Regions from separate parts of the Homo sapiens genome. Here region 2 is linked to region 1. The links are contacts of gene promoters, found by promoter capture Hi-C in human tissues and cell types (Jung and others, 2019). All regions are on one chromosome and are shown on one strand. Each heading gives the region's core, a stretch centred on a gene start or on the middle of the fragment in contact. The rest is flanking DNA. Distances are from core to core; before and after follow the strand shown. Region 1 holds the start of MSH2 (mutS homolog 2). Region 2 overlaps CALM2 (calmodulin 2).

The links. The method cuts DNA at HindIII sites, captures the fragments that hold promoters and counts their contacts. A contact is called where the count stands out against the background at its distance.
Region 2: a fragment that was not itself captured here is called in contact with the fragment with the promoter of MSH2 in region 1 in 1 of the 25 tissues and cell types used here (hippocampus).

The regions. Positions count from the first base shown.
Region 1 is chr2:47,399,411-47,406,109 of GRCh38, reverse strand. It overlaps MSH2 (mutS homolog 2), which reads right to left and starts at 2,954. Exons shown (of 16, transcript NM_000251.3): 1 at 2,708-2,954. The coding sequence starts at 2,918. RefSeq lists enhancers at 2,368-2,427, 1,794-2,502, 2,503-3,213, 3,218-3,267. The HindIII fragment of the contact is 21,211 bases long and covers 1-6,699 here.
Region 2 is chr2:47,161,376-47,168,074 of GRCh38, reverse strand. CALM2 (calmodulin 2) reads left to right here. Exons shown (of 6, transcript NM_001743.6): 3 at 5,413-5,556; 4 at 5,683-5,789; 5 at 6,217-6,352. Among named protein-coding and RNA genes, the nearest start is that of STPG4, 9.4 kb to the right of the region's middle. The HindIII fragment of the contact is 6,403 bases long and covers 1-5,797 here.

The DNA of each region.
Region 1 (6,699 bases), core at 1,705-4,204:
CATACCTGAGACTGGGCAATTTACAAAAGAACGAAGTTTAATGACTCTGCAGCCAGTTCCACATGGCTGAGGAGGCCTCACAATCATTGAGGAAGGCAAGGAGGAGCAAGTTACATCTTACATGGATGGCGGCAGGCAAAGAGAGAGAGCCTGTGCAGGGAAACTCCCATTTTTAAAACCATCAGATCTTGTGAGGCTTATTCACTACCAGGAGAACAGCACAGGAAAAACCTGCCCACATGATTCAATTATGTCCCACCAGGTACCTCCCACAAAACATGGGAATTCAAGATGAGATAAGGGTGGGAACACAGCCAGACCATATCAAGCACCTAACACAATGCTAACCCAAAAACTTCCAGTGTTTTCTCAGTAATTTATTCATTCATTAAATTGTTTATGAAGCACCTATTATATGTGCAGGGACTATGGAAGGTAATAAATAGTGAATAAGCATAGACCCTCTGCTTATATGGAGTCTACACATAAAAATCGTAAGTTCTAAAGGTAACTTTTTAATTTTTTTGTAGAGATGGGTCTCGCTATGTTACACAGGCTAGTCTTCAACTCCTAGCATCAAGCAATCCTCCCACCTTGGCATCCCTAAGTGCTGGAACGAACCACTGCACTTGGTCTGTCCTTTCTTATAATTTTTTTTAAAGTCTTTTTTTTTTTTTTTTTTTTTTTTGAGATGGAGTCTCGCTCTGTTGCCCAGGCTGGAGTGCAGTGGCACAATCTCGGCTCACTGCAAGCTCTGCCTTCCGGGTTCACACCATTCTCCTGCCTCAGCCTCCCAAGTAGCTGGGACTACAGACACCTGCCACCGCACCCAGCTAATTTTTTGTATTTTTAGTAGAGACAGGGTTTCACAGTGTTAACCAGGATGGTCTGGATCTCCTGACCTCGTGATCCGCCCACCTCAGCCTCCCAAAGTGCTGGGATTTTTGTATTTTTAGTGTAGACAGGGTTTCACCATGTTAGCCAGGATGGTCTTGATCTCCTGACCTTGTGATCCGCCCACCTCAGCCTCCCAAAGTGCTGGGATTACAAGCGTGAGTCACTGCGCCCGCCCTGTTTTAAAGTCTTATGTAAAATCTATGTAGGTCAGGTGCAGTGGCTAATACCTGTAATCCCAGCACATCGGGAGGCCAAGGTGGGTGGATCACTTGAGGTCAGGAGTTTGAGACCAGCCTGGCCAACATGGTGAAACCCCATCTCTACTAAAAATACAAAAATTAGCTAGGCGTGGTGGCACGTGCCTGTAATCCCAGCTACTCCGGTGGCTGAGGCAGGAGAATCGCTTGAACCCAGGAGGTGGAGGTTGCAGTGAGCCAGGATTACACCACTGAACTCCAACCTGGGCGACACAGTAAGACTCCGTCTCAGAAAAAAAAAAAAAAAAAACATTTCAGACTTTTCATTGGCTACAGCATAAAATTTCAACAGCTCAACACCACACTAAAAGCCTTTGGTCATCTAACCCCACCCACCTGGGCCAGTCTCCTTCCTTTTCTACACCAGCAACGCCAATCTACCTCGTTTCAAGCCCTCTCCCTAGCAAACTTCTAGTCCACCAAGACTCAACGTGGACTTTGGTGTCTCATATAACGCCTCTTCCGTTGTATGAGACTCTTCCAAAGTCTTCCGTCTTTGGCGATCCTGCCTTGGCGCCTCTTGTAACCTCTTACAAGCTCACCTCCATAAGCCTCCAACTTGAATTGTAATTATTTCTGCCTTGCTGTCCAATAGTGATCTCTATGAAAGTAGAGGTATTTCTTTTTTCATCTAGTGTCCATAACCCTGCCTAACACATTTATATCTAACGAATGAAACATTTTTCATCAGGAGTATCGCATTTGCACTAGTCCTCTAGTCAGGACTAGAATCCACAACTCTGCTCCCCCTAGGATGCTCTTTTCATTAGCATAACTACATAGCTGCAAGAAAGCGCAAAGAAAACAGGGAGAGAAGAGGTTAACTAGGCCTATCCAGAACATTTGGCCCACATAGGGTGAGACGTTTGTAGCTTTCCAGGGAGAGATAATCCTGGATAGATGGGGTCGGGTGACGGAGAGCACTGAATGCTGAGCTGAAGCAGATAGCGTCCATGACTGGCCCAAGGTCACACGTTAATAAGCAGAGGGGCAGCGACTTGATCCCAAGCAGCCCAGCTCCAGAGTCCGTTGGTCCTGACCACTTCATCATACTGCTCTTCAACGGCGCTCCATTACCAGACCCTTAGCTGGACCGGCGGTATAAATGGGAGCGTCGTGGGAGCAGAATTACGTGTCATAAAAGGGTCTCCTAAACCCCCAGTCTATTTTAAATCTCACTCCTGGCTGCTGTTTGTTAATAAGAGATTCTGGCCGTGTTTGTAATGAGCGCTACATGTAGGGCCAAGGCGAGGAATGCGACTGCTGGAAAATGAACTAGAACAATGCATTAAAATGCCTGGCACGACGTAAACACTCCGTGATCACAAGTTCAGATCCGGGGCGGCTGGAGAGGCACGGGTTTCAGGGCTGAGGGGGGCGTCCCTCCGGAGCCAAGCAGAACCTGGGGACGGCGGAATCCGCACAAGCACCAACGTTCCGCCCCCGTGCCTCCGCACTGGAGAGGCTGCTCACCGCCCACTCTCTGAGGCGGGAAAGGAGCCGCGCCACAAGGCCCCGGGTCCCTCCCCAGCACGCGCCGTCCCGGCCCTCACCTGCCGGCCCCATGTACTTGATCACCCCCTGGGTCTTGAACACCTCCCGGGCGGCCAGCAGCGCGTCCTCGCCGTGCGCCGTATAGAAGTCGCCCCGGTCGAAAAGGCGCACTGTGGTGGTCGGCTTCTCCGGCATGCCCTGAAAGAAGCGCACGAAGCCGACCTCGGCCGCGCTCTCCAACTGCAGCGTCTCCTTCGGCTGCACCGCCATGTCGAAACCTCCTCACCTCCTGGTTGAAGAAAATGCGCGACCCCACACCCACTAAGCTGTTTCCCGCCTCCCCTCCCACGTCCCCCGAGCGGCGTCCGGCCACGGCGACCACACCCAATCAGCTTCCAGGGCTGCGTTTCGGTGGGTGGGAGTCTGCCGCGGCAACCAATCATAAGCAGACGCGGCCCAGCTTCCCGCGCACGCTGGTGACTTTAGCTACTGCGCATGCCTGCGCCTAGGTCGCGCGGAAACCCGCAGACGCGCATCCTTAGTAGAGCTCCTTTCTGTGTTTACTCAGCTGCAAGGCTTGAAGCCCCTGGGTGGGGTGTATGCAAGGGTAGGTTGCCACCAGGTGGGAGATTTCCGGCAGGCACTGAGCTCGTAATGTGCCCGGAAGCATGGGAGTAACATCAGAAGGAAACTTGAAAACAAAAAAAAAACTAGCCTTCCTCCTCCTCCCAGTATTTTGTTAAAACGTGTGCCCCTCTCCGACTGCCTCCCTTTTTCTTTCTAAGCAAACTGCCAACATCGGGATTACGGGTTTATTCTACACAGCCTCCTTACTGCTGCCTGTTAGCCACATTATCGTTTCATCCACTCGTTGATGATTCACTCATTCGAAAACATTTATATGGCCTGCTATGTCCCAGACTCTTCTTGGCTCTGAGGATCGCCAGTAAAAAGAAAAATCACTGCCTTTATTCTGCTTACATTCTAATATGAGAAAATTCAGATAATGAATATAGCAAGTAAATGAAATGGTACGTTAGAAGATATGCGTTTGTGGCAGGGCGCGGTAGCTCACGCCTGTAATCCCAGCAATTTGGGAGGCCGAGGTGGGCGGATCACTTGAGCCCAGGAGATTGACACCATCCTGGGCAACATGGTAAAACCCACGTCTGTGATCCCAGATATTAGCAGGGCTGAGGCGAAAGGATCACCTGAGCCCGGGAGGTCGAGGCTGCGGTGAGCCGTAAATTGTGCCACTGCACTCCAGCGTGGGCGACAGATTGAAAACCCTGTCTCAAAAAATACAAAATAAAATAAATAAAAAGACAAACGTTTGACGCCAGGCGTGGTGTCACACGCCATAATCCCAGTACTTTGGGAGCACGAGCCAGGAGGATCGTTTGAGCCCAGGAGGTCTTCTGCCGTCAGCTATGTTCACGCCACTGCACCGCAGCTGGGGCGACAGAGCGAGAGACCCCGTCTTGAGGGGGGGTAGGGGAAGACCAGTTAAGGAAGAGGAAGGTTGAAATTTTAAAATGTTAGCAAACAGCCAGGCGCAGTGGCTCACGCCTGTAATCCCAGCGTATTGGGAGGCCAACGCGGGTGGATCACCTGAGGTCCGGAGTTTGAGACCAGCCTGGCCAACATGGCGAAACCCCGTCTCTACTAAAAATACAAAAATTACCGGGCATAGTGGTGGGCGCCTGTAATCACAGCTACTCGAGAGGCTGAGGCAGGAGAATCTCTTGAACCTGGGAGGTGGAGGGGGCAGTGAGCGAAGATCGCGCCACTACACTCCAGCCTCGGTGACAGAGCGAGACTCTGTCTCAAAAAATAAATAAAATGTTATCAAACACCTGAAGGAGCTCAGGATCCATCCTGCAAAATTAACTCTTAGAAAAGGTTTTTGCTGGCCGGGCGCGGTGGCTCACGCCTGTAATCCCAGCACTTTGGGAGGCCGAGGCGGGCAGATCACCTGAGGTCAGGAGTTCGAGACCAGCCTGACTAACATGGTGAACCTCCGTCTCTACTAAAAACACACACAAAATTAGCCGGGTGTAGTGGTGGGCACCTGTAATCCCAGCTACTTGGGAGGCTGAGGCAGGAGAATCCCTTGAACCTGGGAGGTGGAGGTTGCAGTGAGCCGAGGTCGCGCCATTGCACTCCAGCCTGGGCAACAGGGTGAGACTCTGTCTCAAAAAAAAAAAAAAAAAAAAAAAAGGTTTTTGCATTCTCCAGTTTAGTTTACCCTTTCCCCATGGAAGTGGTTCCAAAACCTAATTCAGCAGCAGAATCACCCTGGGGAGGTGGGGGGGGATTTAAACATATTCCTGTGCCCAGCCCACACATAATGGGTCTTAATTTCTGGAGTAGAGCCTTGGAACCTTTGTTTGTTTTTTTGAGAGGAAGTCTGGCTCTGTCACCACACTGGAGTGCAGTGGCGCAATCTCGGCTCACTGCCTCCCGGGTTCAGGCGATCCTCCTGCCTCAGCTTCCCAAGTAGCTATGACTACAGGTGTGCACCACCACCCCCAGCTAATTTTGGTATTTTTAGGAGAGACGGGGTTTCACTGTGTTGGCCAGGATGGTCTGGTCTCGATCTCTTGACCTCCTGTTCTGCCCGCCTCGGCCTCCCAAAGTGCTGGGATTACAGGTGTGAGCCACCATGCCCAGCTTGGAATCATTTTTTTTTTTTTTGGTTTTGTTTTTTGTTTGTTTGTTTGTTTGTTTTTTGAGATGGAGTTTCGCTCTTGTTGCCCAGGCTGGAGTGCAATGGCACAATCTCAGCTCACTGCAACCTCCACTTCCTGGGTTCAAGCAATTCTCCTGCCTCAGCCTTCTGAGTAGCTGGGATTACAGGCATGCGCCACCACGCCCAGCTAATTTTTGTATTTTTAGTAGAGATAGGGTCTCTCCAAGTTGGTCAGGCTGGTCTCAAACTCCCAACCTCCGGTGATCCACCCACCTCGGCCTCCCCAAGTGCTGAGATTACAGGCATGAGCCACCCCGCCCAGCCTCAGCCTGGAATCATTTTTGAAAGCTCCCTGGATGTTCCTGACAATCAGCTCAATTTAGAAATCTCTGGTGGGCACAGTGGCTCACGCCTGTAATCCCAGCACTTTGGGAGGCCGAGGTCAGCGGGTCAAGATCAGCCTGGCCAACATGGTGAAACCCCGTCTCTACTAAAAATACAAAAATTACCCTGGCATGGTGGCAGGCACCTGTAATCCCAGCTACTCAGGAGGCTGAGACAGGAGAATCGCTTGAATCCGGGAGGCAGAGGTTGCAGTGAGCCGAGACCACGCCATTACACTCCAGCCTGGGCGACAGAGCGAGACTCCGTCTCCATAGAAAAAAAAAAAGAAAGAAATCTCGGGCCTACAGATTAAAATTCAATTGCCTGGCCTTGCGCCAGATCACAGAGCTAGTAAGTGATAGATCTAGAATCCAGTCTTCTTCCAGATTCTGTATGCTTAACCGTCTGTGTGCTTACAGAATCTGCAGCAAGACTGTATACTGAGAAAGAAGATGTGTTTCTGACCTGAGTTTTATTTATTTTATATTTATATTTTTATTTTTTTCAGAGTCTCGCTCTGTCTCCCAGGCTGGAGTACAGTGGCACAATCTCGGCTGACTGCAACCTCCACCCGCCCTGGTTTCAAGTGATTCTCCTGCCTCAGCCTCCCAAATAGCTGGGACTACAAGTGCACACCATCACACCTGGCTAATTTTTGTAATTTTTGTGGAGATGAGTTTTACAACGTTGGCCAGGCTGGTCTGGAACTCCTGATCTCAAGTGATCCGCCCACCTCGGCCTCCCAAAGTGCTGGGATTACAGGTGTGAGCCACCACACCCAGCCTCAAACCTGAGTATTATAGTCTGATGTCATGTGCTATCCCTTTAGAGAAGCTACTACCATTTCTGATACACTTTAATGAGCTGGCCAGGCATGGTACCTCATGCCTGTAGTCCCAACATTTTAGAAGACTTGAAGCCAGAGGAGCACTTGAGCCCAGGAGTTGGAGACCAGCCTGGCAACATAGCAAGATC
Region 2 (6,699 bases), core at 1,347-3,846, 240 kb after region 1:
TGTAACACAAAAAAGTTCTAGAGCACTACTATCCTAAGATTTCTGCCTACTCTCCAAGTCCCTTCCTCCCAAATTTGGTATATTTCAGTGTTTACCTTTGAGATGAAGGCAATTTTTTAATCTGGTAAATTGTAATTGTTGGTGGCTGGGCATGGTGGCGCATGTCTAATCCCAACACTTTGGGAGGCTGAGGCAGTGGGATTGCTTGAGCCCAGGAGTTCAAGACCAGTCTGGGCAACACAGCAAGACCCTGTCTCAAAGAAAAGAAAAAAAAATTTTTTTTTTTTTTTTTTTAGTTGTAAGTGCTGGTGACCGCTAACATCCTTGTGTAGATGAAGTTACTAAATTTTTTTTTTTTTTTTTTTTTTTTTTTTTTTTTTTGAGACGGAGCTTCACTCTCTTGCCCAGGCTGGAGTGCAGTAGCATGATCTTGGCTCACTGCAACCTTTGCTGTCCAACTTCAAGCAATTCTCCTGGCTCAGTCTCCCAAGTAGCTGGGATTACAGGCGTGCACCACCACACCCGGCTAGTTTTTGTATTTTTAGGAGAGATGGGGTTTCACCATGTTGGCCAGGCTGGTCTTGAACTGCTGACGTCAGGTGATCCGCTTACCTTGACCTCCCAAAGTGTTGGGATTACAGGCATGAGCCACTGCTCCCGGCCTAAAATTTTTTATATTACTTGGTCGTATAAAGCATTCCAGTCTAGTATGACATCACTAACAATTTCATTTTGTTGATAACTCTGCCATGATGTCATTAGTTGTTGCTGTTTGACTTTTGGAAGACTGATAGGAAAAATGTACAGTATTTTTTCCTTAAGAAGTCTGTACCTAAACTTTCATTAAATTTTCAAGGTCCAAATTTGTTTGAGAAAAATATTAATATTACTCAATGTATAGCAACAACTGCATGAAGCGCCAAAAGAGTTCCAGTACATGATCTTTAAGGGATTATTAAGTTCAGAATTTTGTGAAGAAATAGAAGTTAATAAACAGTCATTTGATTTGTTTTGTAATTGTCTTGTGATAACCTATTTTAATAAAATTTTTAAAACATGTTATTTTAATAAAATTATATGTTTAGGTAATAAACTAATTAGGGAAGGGCCTTGGGGTTGCTAATGAACAAATAAAACTTGAGTAATAGATTTTTCTGAAAGTTTCAGTTTGGTCAGCTAAAATGGATTTTGGTAGGTTCCTTATATCTATCAATTATGTAGAAGATAGCTGTTCTGTGGCATTCAGGACCTGTTCTCTTTATTGTGTGTTTAGGTTTTGACTCTTGGATTTAATTTCAGGTCATTCCTGGGAGTTACAGTTTAGAATTATATGCTTCTATACATAAAGATTACGCTAGTTCTGAAGTACAGGAAAACTGTAAAGGCAGGTGAATTAAAATTTTACTTTGGGGTTTATTATTTTGAGTTTTTACAGGTATTTTTTACTCTTTAGTATAAAAATACAAGTAAAAATTTGGAATAAACCTTGACCTTTAAAAGAAATGTTATTTGTTCCTTTCTTGAATGAATAACAAATGGTATTAGCATAGATACGGTTTTATTTTCTGCATTTTACTTATTCTAGCAAACATTTTAAGTGTTATTAGATTTTTAAATTTCTCGAAAGTTATACATAGTCTTACACTATGCATCTTCCAGTATTTAGCTTTTTGTTAAATCATGTAATAGAAAGGTGATTACTGCTAATTAAACATTGGGAATTTATGCACCTAATGGTGGTGTTAAAAGATACCCATAGCAGAGAATGTAATATAAACAAATACCTCAAAGTCCTTTAATTTTCTTGTAACCTAAATTAGGTGAAAGGTGCAATGTGTCTGAACTCCAATATATGTATTTCTAGATATTTCTACATTCTGTTTAAAAACAGTAAAATTGAAATGTCTTTATCAATTGTGCTATTTGTAGGTGGAGACTCCCTGATCTATTTTTGTCATTAGGTTGATCTAGGTTAGCACTGTATACTATCTTCATAAAATCAATTAGTGTGGTATGAACCTTCTGATTGGTATTAGATGAGTTCCTCTATAAACCAGTAATATTTAAATAAGAAAGAATGCAGTTAGGAGGCAATTGTAATAGCCCTGGCAAAGGACGATGGAGCCTTGAACCAAAATACTGGTTGTAGAGATGGAGGAAAAATCAGGCAGTATTTAAATGATAGAATTCGAGACCTGTTGACAGATTTCAGACTGAAAGAGTTAAAAGTGGCTCTTGGGCTTTTGCTAGTACCTTTAGGGTTGCCTGGGAGTATAGAATTCATTTTCATATGTTTTGCTTGTCATCAGCCAGGGGAGCTATATCCTGTAGACAGCCAGAAATAAAGACATTTATTGAGCGAGATGGGTAGACTAAAGATATCTTCGTTGTAAGTGGGTATAGATGAAGTGGCCAAGGAGTGGAAAAAAAGGATAAAATTGGTCACATCTAGACATAAGAGACAGGAGTAAGAGCCTTTGGCAGTATATGGTAGGAGGAAAATCAAAGTACTGTTACGAAGGCCAAGAAAAATTTTGAGAGTTTTTCCATGCAGTTTTGGATGCTGCAAAAAAATGAGATAGTCTTTATCTTGACATTTATTAAGTATGTATTTGTTGGACATAGTTCTAAGTGTTTGACACATACTAATTTTTTTATGGGGGGTGACCAGGTGAATACCCCTTGTGGGCATGGTATACTGTGTCACCCCACTTACTGGGCACATTTATGTCATTTCACAGAAATGAGGAAGCTGAGGCAGAAAAGGTTTAGTAGCTTGTCCATATTGCATTGCCAGAAGAAGAAACAGAGCTAGGAAATTCTAACCCAGTAGTCAAGTTACAAAGTCTCATTTTAGTTTCTATGCCATATGGCTTCACATTGAAGCATGCTTGATGGATTGGGTGACTGACTAGTAGTCATTGGTAAACTCAGCATTTTCAGGTGATGAGTTGGAGCTGGATGTCATTTTAAAATAGTGGATTGTTTGGAGAGAGGAAATTGGTATGAGTAGTAGTGCCTTCCAAAATTTGGGGAGGGATAAGGGCAAGCATTTAAAATATAACTAAGGTTTCAATTTAGTTTTAGGCTAAGCGATGTGAAGATATTTATGTGGTAATGGGCAAATTAGTGGAAGAATAGTTGAGTCCAGGGAAGAGGTAATACGGAATGAAACTGGAAGGTGTACGCGAATTGGAGTTAGGGATAAGCAGGCAGGGAATAAATTGGCCTTGGACCGTAAAGAAGGTACACCATTTCTTACACATGTGTCACATAAATTTTCAAATGTATGGCTATGTTGGGAAAGCTTAATGGCCCAATGAACTTGGAAACTTTTTGTATTCATTTGCTGATAGGGTCTAATATTTTCTGGGAAATGACTTACTTGGAAAATACTAGCTTTATTATTTACTGATTGGTATAACTTTGCAGTATCAAAGTTAGTCTGTTTTAGTTTCTTTCTTTCTTTTTTTTTTTTTGAGACAAGTCTCACTCTGTTGCCCAAGCTGGAGTGCAGTGGTGTGATCTCGGCTCACTGCAACCTCCGCCTCTCGGGTTCAAGCAGTTCTGCTGCTGCAGCCTCCCCAGTAGCTGGGACTACAGGCGCACGCCGCCACACCCAGCTTGTGTGTGTGTTTGTGTTTTAATAGAGACGGGGGACTACAGGCCCACGCTGCCACACCCAGCGTGTGTGTGTGTGTGTGTGTGTGTGTGTGTGTGTGTGTGTTTTAGTAGAGACGGGGGACTACAGGCACACGCCGCCACACCCAGCTTGTGTGTGTGTGTGTTTTAGTAGAGACGGGGTTTCTTTTCTTTTTCTTCTTTTTTTTTTTTTTTGAGACGGAGTCTCGCTCTGTCGCCCAGGCTGGAGTGCAGTGGCGCAATATCAGCTCACTGCAAGCTCTGCCTCCCAGGTTCACGCCATTCTCCTGCCTCAGCCTCCCGAGTAGCTGGGACTATAGGCGCCCGCCACCACGCCCGGCTAATTTTTTTGTATTTTTAGTAGAGATGGGGTTTCACCGTGTTAGCCAGGATGGTCTCGATCTCCTGACCTCATGATCCACCCGCCTCAGCCTCCCAAAGTGCTGGGATTACAGGCTTGAGCCACCGCGCCCGGCCTGAGACGGGGTTTCACCCTGTTGTTCAGGCTGGTCTGGAACTCACCCTGAGCTCAGGCAGTCTGCCCACCTTGGCCTCCCAAAGTGCTAGGATTACAGGTGTGAGCCACTGCACCTGGCTTGTTTTAGTTTATCTGTAAATGGTGAATGAAGCCAGGTAGTCTGGAGTGTTGCACCAGCAGGAGGTTTCCATGTAATCTAGTGATGTATTAGAAGGAACATATAGCCGGGCACAGTGGCTCATGCCCTGTAATCCCAGCACTTTGGGAGGCAGAGACAGGCGGATCACCTGAGGTTGGGAGTTCGAGGCCAGCCTGACCAACGTGGAGAAACCCCATCTCTACTAAAAATAGAAAATTAGCTGGGCGTGGTGGTGCATGCCTGTAATTCCAGCTACTCGGGAGGCTGAGGCAGGAGAATTGCTTGATCCTGGGAGGAGGAGGTTGCGGTGGGCTGAGATTGCACCATTGCACTCCAGCCTGGACAACAAGAGCGAAAGTCCATCTCAAAAAAAAAAACAACAGCAGGAAGGAACATACTATCACAACAAGATGTTGAGGAATAATCAGTTTCACTATATAAGGTTGGGGTTTTAATATTCCAAAGAAAGCTCAAAATGATCTTTGTTCTCAGTGACATGCATTTAGCTAAAACTGGACATTTATATCTTGATCAGCCCATTGTTATAGACTCTTTATATAGTCCCTTCTCCTGCCTTACTAGAAAGGGAAAGTAGCCTGTTTTAATTTAGTAGGTGATTGATTTAGACATAGTGGCTAACTCTAAACACAGTATACAGAAACAGTTTAATTACTCTGTAGAAATACGTATTTGGGTACCAGTAGTCTTATTTTTGTTTTGTGAGTGTAGGTTAGGTCTGTAATTTTGAATTATGTTCCACAGAGCAGCTTCAGTGACAGAGGAGCCAGTCATTTGGGGATTTGGTTCTTTTCCTCTGTAAACCTAGGATAATTTTACTTAGGTCAGCATGAAAGTACAGTGGTATGATTGGTCAAAGATATATTTGAAATATTATCATAAGGTATCATAAAGATTGGTTAATCTTTAGGAGTCAAAGTCACATTTCAATTGCTACCTCCATTGGTATTTTTCCGTTAAAAGTTTTTGGGTTTTTCTGAGACGTGGGGTCTTACAGTTTGGCCAGGCTGAAGTGCAGTGGCTGTTCACTGGCACGATCCCACCACTGAGTAGGCTTTAAGAGTTAATACGTTTCATTTAGGTTACATTTTATTATTAATCTGTGTATTTGGATTGTGGTCTTTCTTTCAAACAGAATTCAAAGAAGCTTTTTCACTATTTGACAAAGATGGTGATGGAACTATAACAACAAAGGAATTGGGAACTGTAATGAGATCTCTTGGGCAGAATCCCACAGAAGCAGAGTTACAGGACATGATTAATGAAGTAGATGCTGATGGTAAGTCTTCAATTTTGTGGGGCTGGGAGGGGTTGAAGAAGTGATACTTAGATGTTTCCACTAAACCTTTGCTGTTTGCTTATATGTTTCCACTAAAGCTTTGATGTTTCCACTAAACCATTTCAGGTAATGGCACAATTGACTTCCCTGAATTTCTGACAATGATGGCAAGAAAAATGAAAGACACAGACAGTGAAGAAGAAATTAGAGAAGCATTCCGTGTGTTTGATAAGGTACGTCAAGGACTGGATATGTTAAATTTTGAGGATGAAATGAAGATACCAGGACTCATTATGAAGACTTGTGTTTTTTTGGTTGTTTTTTTTTTTTTTTTTTTTTTTTTTTTTGATGATTTACCAACATATTTTAATTACCAAGCAAAAGCTTTTTAAGAATTCAGTATAGACTTTCTAATATATGTATTGCGTTCATCTTGTCAAAGGAGGTGTCACTTGACTTTGGGACTAGGAAATAATGATTTCAATGTAGGACATTTTGCTTGGCTCTTAATGACATTTGTAGGTCAACTGTGTAGATTTGTATGCATTTCTAAAGTATGTTTTTCCCCCAATGTGAAATTTAGTAGTAAACTTAATAAATTTCCATTCCAACTCTCAAGTCTGTAATTTGACTCAGAAACTATACTAAATTTTTTGCTAGGATGGCAATGGCTATATTAGTGCTGCAGAACTTCGCCATGTGATGACAAACCTTGGAGAGAAGTTAACAGATGAAGAAGTTGATGAAATGATCAGGGAAGCAGATATTGATGGTGATGGTCAAGTAAACTATGAAGGTAAATGTTTCAGTCTCACGCCTCATTCTTCACTTTGATTTTTAAGATAAGAGGCTCTTTGTTAGGGAACTGATCGAAATTAGTGACCCTTCCCCTGAAATTAGGTTGCTAAAACAGTTACTTACATTTAACCTTCTTAAAATTCAGAGTGTTGTCTGCAGACTAGGTAACATTGCTCTGACTTGAGAACTTAATTTAGAAATATTTACTATCAGGTTCTATCCCTACACCTGGAATCAGCATTTTAATAGGATTCTTGGGTGATTCATGTATAAAGTTTGAGAAGCACTGTTCAGTGTTTGTGTGATTGTGGAACAATGTGGAAAGCAAACTTATTCCAAGTTTCC